Regions from separate parts of the Homo sapiens genome. Here region 2 is linked to region 1. Evidence: promoter capture Hi-C in 16 types of primary human blood cells and fetal thymus (Javierre and others, 2016). All regions are on one chromosome and are shown on one strand. The core of a region is centred on a gene start or on the middle of the fragment in contact, and the rest is flanking DNA. Distances in the headings are between cores, read along the strand shown.

Region 1 (4,245 bases), core at 1,746-4,245:
GAAAATTGTATATATTTATTGGTCCTATATTTCTGTCCTTTACAAAGAATCTTTAATGTGTTGACCTTGAAGCCTCCCTCAGCTGAAGAACAGGATCTTATTCTTTTAAATCTGCCTGTTTTTATGTAGCCTATTAAAAGGAAAAGACTTCAGTAGGTTATTTTAGATATAGTATAATCATTTAAAAACTCTTTTTAAAAACCAAGGTGTGACTAATACAGTCATATTGAAACTATGGAAGAGATACAATGGTCTACTCCAGTGAAAAATATATTCAAGTTGATAAAGCAAAATTTCAAAAACCAAATGTGGCAAAATCATGTGAAAACACTTTCAATGTTCCTGTTTATTCTTTAAATGCATACATCATCTGGTTAAAGTGAGTAATCTAAAAATTAATTACTCACACTTGAACCATGTTACAAGAGGAGGTAATTCATCTTAGCAATAAGAAACTTTACCACTGTTTTTAGGGCCTTGAAATTATGAAATGAGCCAAAAGCAGAGCATCAAAGGGAAAACAGGTCAAAAGCCCTGTTTCAAAAATCTTTAGGGGCCTAGACTAAGCTACAAAAATGGACAATCCTCCTTATGTCTTGCCCAAGAAAATGTTTCTGTGTAATCTACAATAATCATGTTTTCACTTACGAGAAGCCACAATTCCTACAGCAACCTTAAAATGAAACCAAGAGGCGACAATAAAAACATTGCTTTAAAACAACTGTTCTTGAAAAATCCCTTTGGATCTGGAATCCATTACCACTGTATGGCTTGCCTTGTATCTCAATAACAGTCATCACAGGTGTTTGAAACAAGCAGGCCTTGGCTTTGGTGTTCCCCCCACCCAAAATGGGACAACTCTCTGATCATAATCACTCAGGCTGAGTGTAATCACCTACAGTTTTCTGAAGTGAGGGTCAATAATGTCTCCTTTTAGTTTCTATGAATAGCATTTTTCATAGTTGCTCAGATGCCTTCCCTCATGTAGGCTTGGGTAGGCCATGATATAAATAAAACACTGCCTAGATTATTTTATAAGCAGGGCAGTTTGCTGAATATACAACTGAGGGAGACAGGCTTGTTTTCATAACTTTGATAATAATCCTTCTGAGACACCATTTCCTCACCTGCTTTAATAACCCACCAGATAATTGTTGAAAGATCACCCCCTTACGAGTCTCCCAAGTAGACTGAAAATAATAACTACAAGAGATTATTTAGCAGTAAATTACAGCTGATCTACAGAAGTTCTTTAAAGCAAAAAAAAAAAAAAACAAAAAAAAAACACTACCATCTCATTAGAGTGACCAGAGATTCTAAATAGTCCAAGGAATCTTTGCAGGAGGAATAAAGATAAATTAGATAAATTATAGTATCAATTAACATTTATTGAGTGTTTATGTGCCAGGCACTGTTCTATGTGATTTACACGTGCTATCCCATTTATTTCTCAAAACAGCCCAGTGAATATATACCAAGATTATCCCCAGTTAGACAAAGGGTGACAAGAAGAATAAAATATTAACTATCTTCTGTTAATAAATTAACTACTACCAGCACCCTCATCATATATGTTTATCCAATTCTTTTAGTTCAAATGTTTATCTGTCTATACCCACTGACCTGATTCCCATATCCTAAAGCCCCTTCTCATCCTCTCCAACCTTATCAACTGCCATTACTGGCAGGTGCGTATGCACTAGACCTTATTTTTGGTAAATTTTAAAATAATCATAACTATCGTCTACTATATGCAAATCCCTGTTCTAAGTACTTTACGTATATTCAACTATTAATCATAACTGACATCAATATATGAGGTTGGTAAAATTATTATCTCAGTTTTCAGATGAGGAAACTGAGGCACACAGAGGTTACATAACTTGCCCAAAGTCATGTAGTTAGTGGCAGAGCCAGGATTTGAATCCAGCCAGTAAGCATTCAGAGTCCACACTCAGCCATTGTTTATACTGCTTTTGAAGCATATTAAGAATTAACTCTTAAAAGTCAAGAAATCTGTGCTATGTTTTGTTTCCTTTAACATTTGGTGCACAGGACATCACACTGCAAACACGGAGTGTATTCCACAACTCTCTAAGGTAAACAATAATAAAATAGAAATTTATCAAGCTTCCTTCATCTAGTAAATATTCTTTTTGTTGTAACACAAGTATGAAATTCTGAATAATTCAAACACTTCTATGCTTAGTCCCTGCTTACTTACTACAGAATTATTAAAGAATTACCCAAAAGTTCTTGGACTGGAAAGATGTGAAAAAGCCACTAACTCTATTTTCCTAGAATGAAGATGAAAAGAAGATGTGTTTAGGAACCTTCTCTGCTTCCCTAAAAGAACCCTAAAAACAGGAGTAAAAACAGTGAAGAAAACAAAGGACCTTCAAAGTGCACTCGTTAAAACCTAATAACTGTATTTCTATTACTAAATGTAGAAGTGGTAAACATCTTTAACAGGCAATGTCTCCCCTGCACTCTAGGGATTCAAAGATCCATCTTTCGGTTCTGTAAGACAGTCACGGCTTTTGTAACCTCGGTGCCCCCTTCAACCTCCCGCCCCAAGCACCTCCAGGGTCGTCAGGGGTGTAGTTTTGAGTCGCGCTCCTAAGCATCCAGACAGGCAGGACACCGTAACGACATCTCTGCCGGGAGTCCCTTCAGACTGCGGTCTCCAGGTAACCGCACTCCAACAGAAGCAGTTGTGCTTCCTATCGGGTCACCTGTTCAAAAGTCCCCAGGAGAGGCTCCAGCAATACCAGGGTAGCGGTTTGCCCGACACCGCTCCGGGCGCTGCAGCCTTCCGGCAACCCGGACGTTGGGTCGGTGTCAGCCACTCTCACCTCCCATTCCCTAGTTTTCCTCCTTTGCTCCCGTCTAGTCACTTCGCACCTTCGGCTAGTCTTTATTCACAGACACATTCCAGGAGTCCCCTCTCCCAGAGCAACAAAGACAGATTTCCAAAGCTACACATCCCAGAGAGAACGGATTCTTGGGAAATGTGGTTCTTTCAGCTGACGCATGGTGACTCTTTACGGAAAAGGACTACAATTCCCAGAAATCCTAGGGAGCATATAGTCCGTGGCTAAAACATGTCCCAGCTCCTTGGATGGAATGGCAGTAAAGGTTCTGTGGCTCTTTACTGACCTAACTCCTTGGATTTTCCTCATTCAGTCCCACTGCAAGCGTGTGGGAGGACTTAAAAAAATGCTATTCACATGTGAAGGAATCTAAATACGATGATTATATGAAGCGATCTCTAAGTCATTTTATTTTATAATTCTTTCAGACAAAAATCTACGTACCATCAGAAACTATGTCTCTGCAGATGGTAACAGTCAGTAATAACATAGCCTTAATTCAGCCAGGCTTCTCACTGATGAATTTTGATGGACAAGTTTTCTTCTTTGGACAAAAAGGCTGGCCCAAAAGATCCTGCCCCACTGGAGTTTTCCATCTGGATGTAAAGCATAACCATGTCAAACTGAAGCCTACAATTTTCTCTAAGGATTCCTGCTACCTCCCTCCTCTTCGCTACCCAGCCACTTGCACATTCAAAGGCAGCTTGGAGTCTGAAAAGCATCAATACATCATCCATGGAGGGAAAACACCAAACAATGAGGTTTCAGATAAGATTTATGTCATGTCTATTGTTTGCAAGAACAACAAAAAGGTTACTTTTCGCTGCACAGAGAAAGACTTGGTAGGAGATGTTCCTGAAGCCAGATATGGTCATTCCATTAATGTGGTGTACAGCCGAGGGAAAAGTATGGGTGTTCTCTTTGGAGGACGCTCATACATGCCTTCTACCCACAGAACCACAGAAAAATGGAATAGTGTAGCTGACTGCCTGCCCTGTGTTTTCCTGGTGGATTTTGAATTTGGGTGTGCTACATCATACATTCTTCCAGAACTTCAGGATGGGCTATCTTTTCATGTCTCTATTGCCAAAAATGACACCATCTATATTTTAGGAGGACATTCACTTGCCAATAATATCCGGCCTGCCAACCTGTACAGAATAAGGGTTGATCTTCCCCTGGGTAGCCCAGCTGTGAATTGCACAGTCTTGCCAGGAGGAATCTCTGTCTCCAGTGCAATCCTGACTCAAACTAACAATGATGAATTTGTTATTGTTGGTGGCTATCAGCTTGAAAATCAAAAAAGAATGATCTGCAACATCATCTCTTTAGAGGACAACAAGATAGAAATTCGTGAGATGGAGACCCCAGA
Region 2 (4,689 bases), core at 828-3,327, 77 kb before region 1:
ACTGTTAATGGAGGGCCTATAGACCATAACTATGACAGTAGAGTTTGATACCTGTTAGTTACACCAATGGATTGTAATACCAGTTTGCCTCCACTAGATGTCGCTGTACATAATCAGAAACATTCATATAAAAGTAACATTCCTTTTAGGAAAAGTGGCATTGGATTGGGTGGCTAGAATAACTTTAGTGTTAACCTTGGCTACATTTTTCCTGCAATTATCAATCCTTTCATGACTTCCACAGAAAATCTCTTTCCTTTATAACCTTTGCATAACCAGGATGTGACATATTACCAAACCCAATAAGAAGTTCTAGCAAACTCAGTGATAGTAAAACTTTCATGCTTCCCTTTTGTTGGCAGCTATTATCCCTACTATAAGGATAATAATTAAGCAAAAAATATTGCAGCAATGGAAACTCTCCGTCCAATATTTCAATTAAAAGGTGCTACCGGCCAGGCGTGGTGGCTCATGCCTGTAATCCCAGCACTTTAGGAGGCCGAGGTGGGCGGATCACCTGAGGTTGGGAGTTCGAGACCAGCCTGACCAACATGGGAAAACCCCGTCTCTACTAAAAATAAAAAAGTAGCCGGGTGTGATGGCGCATGCCTATAATCCCAGCTACCAGGGAGGCTGTGGCAGGAGAGAATCGCTTCAACCCGGGAGATGGAGGTTGCAGTGAGCCGAGATCCCGCCATTGCACTCCAGCCTGGGCAACAAGAGCGAAACTGAGCCTCAAAAAAACAAAACAAAACAAAACAAAAAACAGTGCTACTGTGTATAGCTCTACTACAAATAGTAGAGTGAGTAGAGCAATTCCTGCAAGTGTGGTGTAAGTAGATAATTTCCATCTAAAATTTTACTTGCTAAGATATAGAATTTCCCTTTGGGGATCTATAAAGTTCCTTGGTTCTATTTCCCTAAACAAAGAAACCTCTGAGTTATGGGCACCCTATTCACTCTCATTACCTGGCAGAATTTACAGGATAATTGCCCAGAACTAGCATATTGATCTAGATTTTCACATTACCTATGCCTTTTTGTTTCTTCCAAGCTGCAGGAGATCACCACTTGATTCACAGGAATAAGCAGGGTTAGTCTAAAATGTAGGCAAAAAGCTGAAAAACAATTAATGAGACTATGATTTAATGACAAATGTATGATAAGCTTTGGAGCATAATGATAAGCTTTAGAGCATAGTTTCTCTCTCTAGTCCCCATTTTTGGTAAAAGCAAATTATGATAGTATTGTGTTGTTTGTAGAATAAACTTTAGTTTTATATTTGGCCTGATTATTTGCATAAAGTACAGTAAGAATAATTATTTCTATGTAAGCCTTTTGGATTGGCTTTGATGGCACTCTGTTTCAAAAGGAATCTCAGATAAGACCTCTTAAAGCCCAGCCATGAGTTTTTATCCTGTGAGTCCCAAGATAAACTTGGAGCTCCTGGACCTGTTAGAAAGTGACATTCTTTACTGACCACAGATTAGGAACCCTGTGCGGGGACTGTGTAGACAAGGGATGAGGCCAGTTCTCCCCAAGAGGCTTTTATCGGCACTGGAAGTAAAGATAGACTCTTAAAGGGAAGCATACCCTTTCGGTCAAAGCCTTGGTAAAATAACTAGCTTTTCCAGTTGTGTCCTGTTGAAAAAGAAAAATGGATCTTATTGCACTGATGCAAACAACTATATTTCCATAAGTTAAGAGTACTCACAGGCAGTTTCCAACTTCTAGAGGAACCAGGCAGACAGAAACAAACGTGCTCCAAATTTTGTTTGCAGGAGTATACCTTACTCAATTATTAAAGGCCATAAATAGTTTAAAATAAGTTTTCTTAACTCTGAAAAACAAAACAAGGATCAGCAACATTCCAAGTAAAAGTCAAAAAGGTTGCTTTAACTTTCTGAGTGCAGTCCATTTAGTTAACTCTTGTATTGCTTGACATTCGTGAACATTTCAGTTCTTCATGAGTCCCACACATTCTTTCTCTATTCCAATGTTACAATCTTCAAGGCTATTAAAAACTCACATTTGAGAACACCTGTTCAAGTTTTATAGCTTGATTATAACCTATCTTTTAAGAAGGAACAAAGCAAGACAAAATGGTCTTTGAATGACAAAATTTCCAGGATAGTTACAGTTAAAAACATGACTGACAGGCTGGGCATGGTGGCTTATGCCTGTAATCCCAGCACTTTGGGAGGCCAAGGCAGGCTGATCACGAGGTCAGGAGATCGAGACCATCCTGGCTAACATGGTGAAACCCCGTCTCTACTAAAAATACAAAAAATTAGCCAGGCATGGTGGTGGGTGCCGGTAGTCTCAGCTACTCAGGAGGCTGAGACAGGAGAATGGCATGAACACGGGAAGTGGAGCTTGCAGTGAGCCAAGATCACGATACTGCACTCCAGCCTAGGCAACAGTGTGAGACTCCATCTCAAAAAAAAAAAAAAAAAAAAGACTGACAAAGAAATTTAGTTATCTCCATGGCTTATAACTTTACCCCTAATTACTATTGATAGCATATATTTAGACATTAAAATTTTAGAAATCCCATACAATTTTGGAACATATGTTAGTATTATTCATCAAAATATAACTTAAAGAAGATTGGACATCGTTTTGGCAATTTCATGTGACAAAACATGTCAAATAATCCTGTTCACCTCTTTTCTGAATGTTTCAGGGGCCCTCTGAACCATCCAGAAAGCCAGGCATCAGGAAAGACAATTTTGAAACTTAAAGTTTGATTTTTGGGTGCCTGTTAAATGTTAGAGGTTTAAAACACTTGATGTTATGAAATAGAATTCCAAATTGCCATAAATTATTTATTTTGCCAAAACGATGACTCAAAAAGCAAAAATTTTTATTATCCTTTATTATTACATGAAAATCCTGTTTAAGCAAAATTTTACCCTTGCATTAATTTACTGATATCAATCCCAATTTCTTTAAATGGAAGCTTATAGATGATTCCATCTAATCTTAACCAATTTGACCATGAGGTGAAATCTTTACAAGCCCTTTATAACCTCTTTTACTAACGGGCAGATTAGTGTCTTAAGACACCCTTGTTGTGCTTTTATTTCAATGCTCAATTTATGAAAAGACCATGTAATATGCTTTTGAATTTAGTTAGGTTTACACATTTTTGCAAGATTAATTTTTACAATCTTTCCACAACTTACTTAAACATTTAGCTTTATCTTATTAAATGTAAGATAATCCCTTATTCCTGGGCAAAATTTGGATTTCCATGCTTTCTTATAATCTTTTACTAAAAAACACATTTCACTGTTTTTATATGCCTTGAATGTAAAACTGTTTAATGATCTCAAATACATGTTGCACTCTTAACTCTTAGCAACTTTTATTTTTGGTGAAAAGCCTGGTTAGTAAGTGTTTTTAATTGTTGTTGTGTTTCTTGAGACAGAGTCTTGCTGTCGCCCAGGCTGGAGCGCAGTGGCACGATCTCAACTCACTGCAACCTCCACCTCCTGGGTTCAAGCAATTCTCCTGCTTCAGCCTCCCTAGTAGCTGGGATCACAAGCACCCGCCACCATGCCCAGCTAATTTTTGTATTTTAGTAGAGACAGGGTTTCACCATGTTGGCCAGGCTGGTCTCGAACTCCTGACCTCAAGCAATCCACCTACCTAGGCCTCCCAAGTGCTGGAATTACAGGCATGAGCCACCGCACCCAGCCAGTAAGTGATTTTAGTTATGTACCAGCTTAAATATTAAAGTCACACGAACTAAAAAATATTTCAGTGCTTATTTTTTCTTTAAGCCAATTAATTGGAGCTCTTTTTATAGACATCACACAAAACACATACACAGCGACACAGACAGAAGATTCAGCACTTGTAAGATTTTTATTTGACGCTTTCATAACTGGATTACTGGCTTCAGGGTGGAGCCCTTGGAGGAACAGGGCCGGGATGGCATGCATCTTTAGGGACTAATAAGCAAGCACAGCCACAGGTAAAGACAGATCTGGAAAATTAAGGATGCCTTTTTATGCTGGATTTTTGGATCCCCAAAAGGAGGGAGAGCCATCTTTTAAAGAGTGTATTTCTTACTTAATTATTACACACCAAAGCTCTCTCCTAATGTGAAGTAATTTGATACCCCCAAAACTCAAAATGGCCAGATAACACAAGGCAAAACAGAACAGAGCCTTTGATTTTGAGAGGGAAGTATCTGCTTTTAATTCCTGGGGTTTCATGAGGAAAACAGAGGTTTTTTTCCCAAAACAATGTCTGTGGCACCTCCTCTGTTTTCCCACGGAGTCCCATGCTACCAGAAGTTATCTTAGGGCCTCTCATGTATGCATTAAGTGTGGCAAGACAAAAAACGGAGAAAAATAATTCAGTAGACTGAGAAGAAAAAAACCTTTTTCCAGAAAAACAAGATCCAAGAAGCGAAAACCATAAAGGCCTTTTAAATATACCTATAACTTGAATATCCACTTTTGATTAAGCTGAGTGCTGTTTAAGAAAATCCTTTTAAATCCCTTGTTACTCTACTTTAGCCACGCCAAGCAGTTAAGATTTTTCAGCTTTTGAACTTTACAAAAAGTAACCTCACAGGTGAAACCAACAAACCTTAATTAGGTTATGATTAACCACAGGTGTACAAGATATCTTCAAAGTGGGTGACAGGCAATTTTTGAAACCATCATTGCAAAA

What was found. Contacts are between HindIII fragments. The CHiCAGO score rates a contact against its expected background, and 5 or more counts as called.
Region 2: a contact is called between a fragment that was not itself captured here and the fragment with the promoter of IFTAP in region 1, in 1 of 17 cell types (fetal thymus). The highest score is 6.1, in fetal thymus.

The regions. Positions count from the first base shown.
Region 1 is chr11:36,593,252-36,597,496 of GRCh38, reverse strand. IFTAP (intraflagellar transport associated protein) reads right to left here and starts at 2,995. Exons shown (of 6, transcript NM_138787.4): 1 at 2,905-2,995. It overlaps RAG2 (recombination activating 2), which reads left to right. Exons shown (of 2, transcript NM_000536.4): 2 at 3,302-4,245. The coding sequence starts at 3,329. RefSeq lists an enhancer at 2,949-3,088. The HindIII fragment of the contact is 5,310 bases long and covers 2,133-4,245 here.
Region 2 is chr11:36,668,427-36,673,115 of GRCh38, reverse strand. LOC107984325 (a long non-coding RNA gene) reads right to left here and starts at 2,227. Exons shown (of 3, transcript XR_001748186.1): 1 at 1,594-2,227; 2 at 1,031-1,118. The HindIII fragment of the contact is 1,775 bases long and covers 1,190-2,964 here.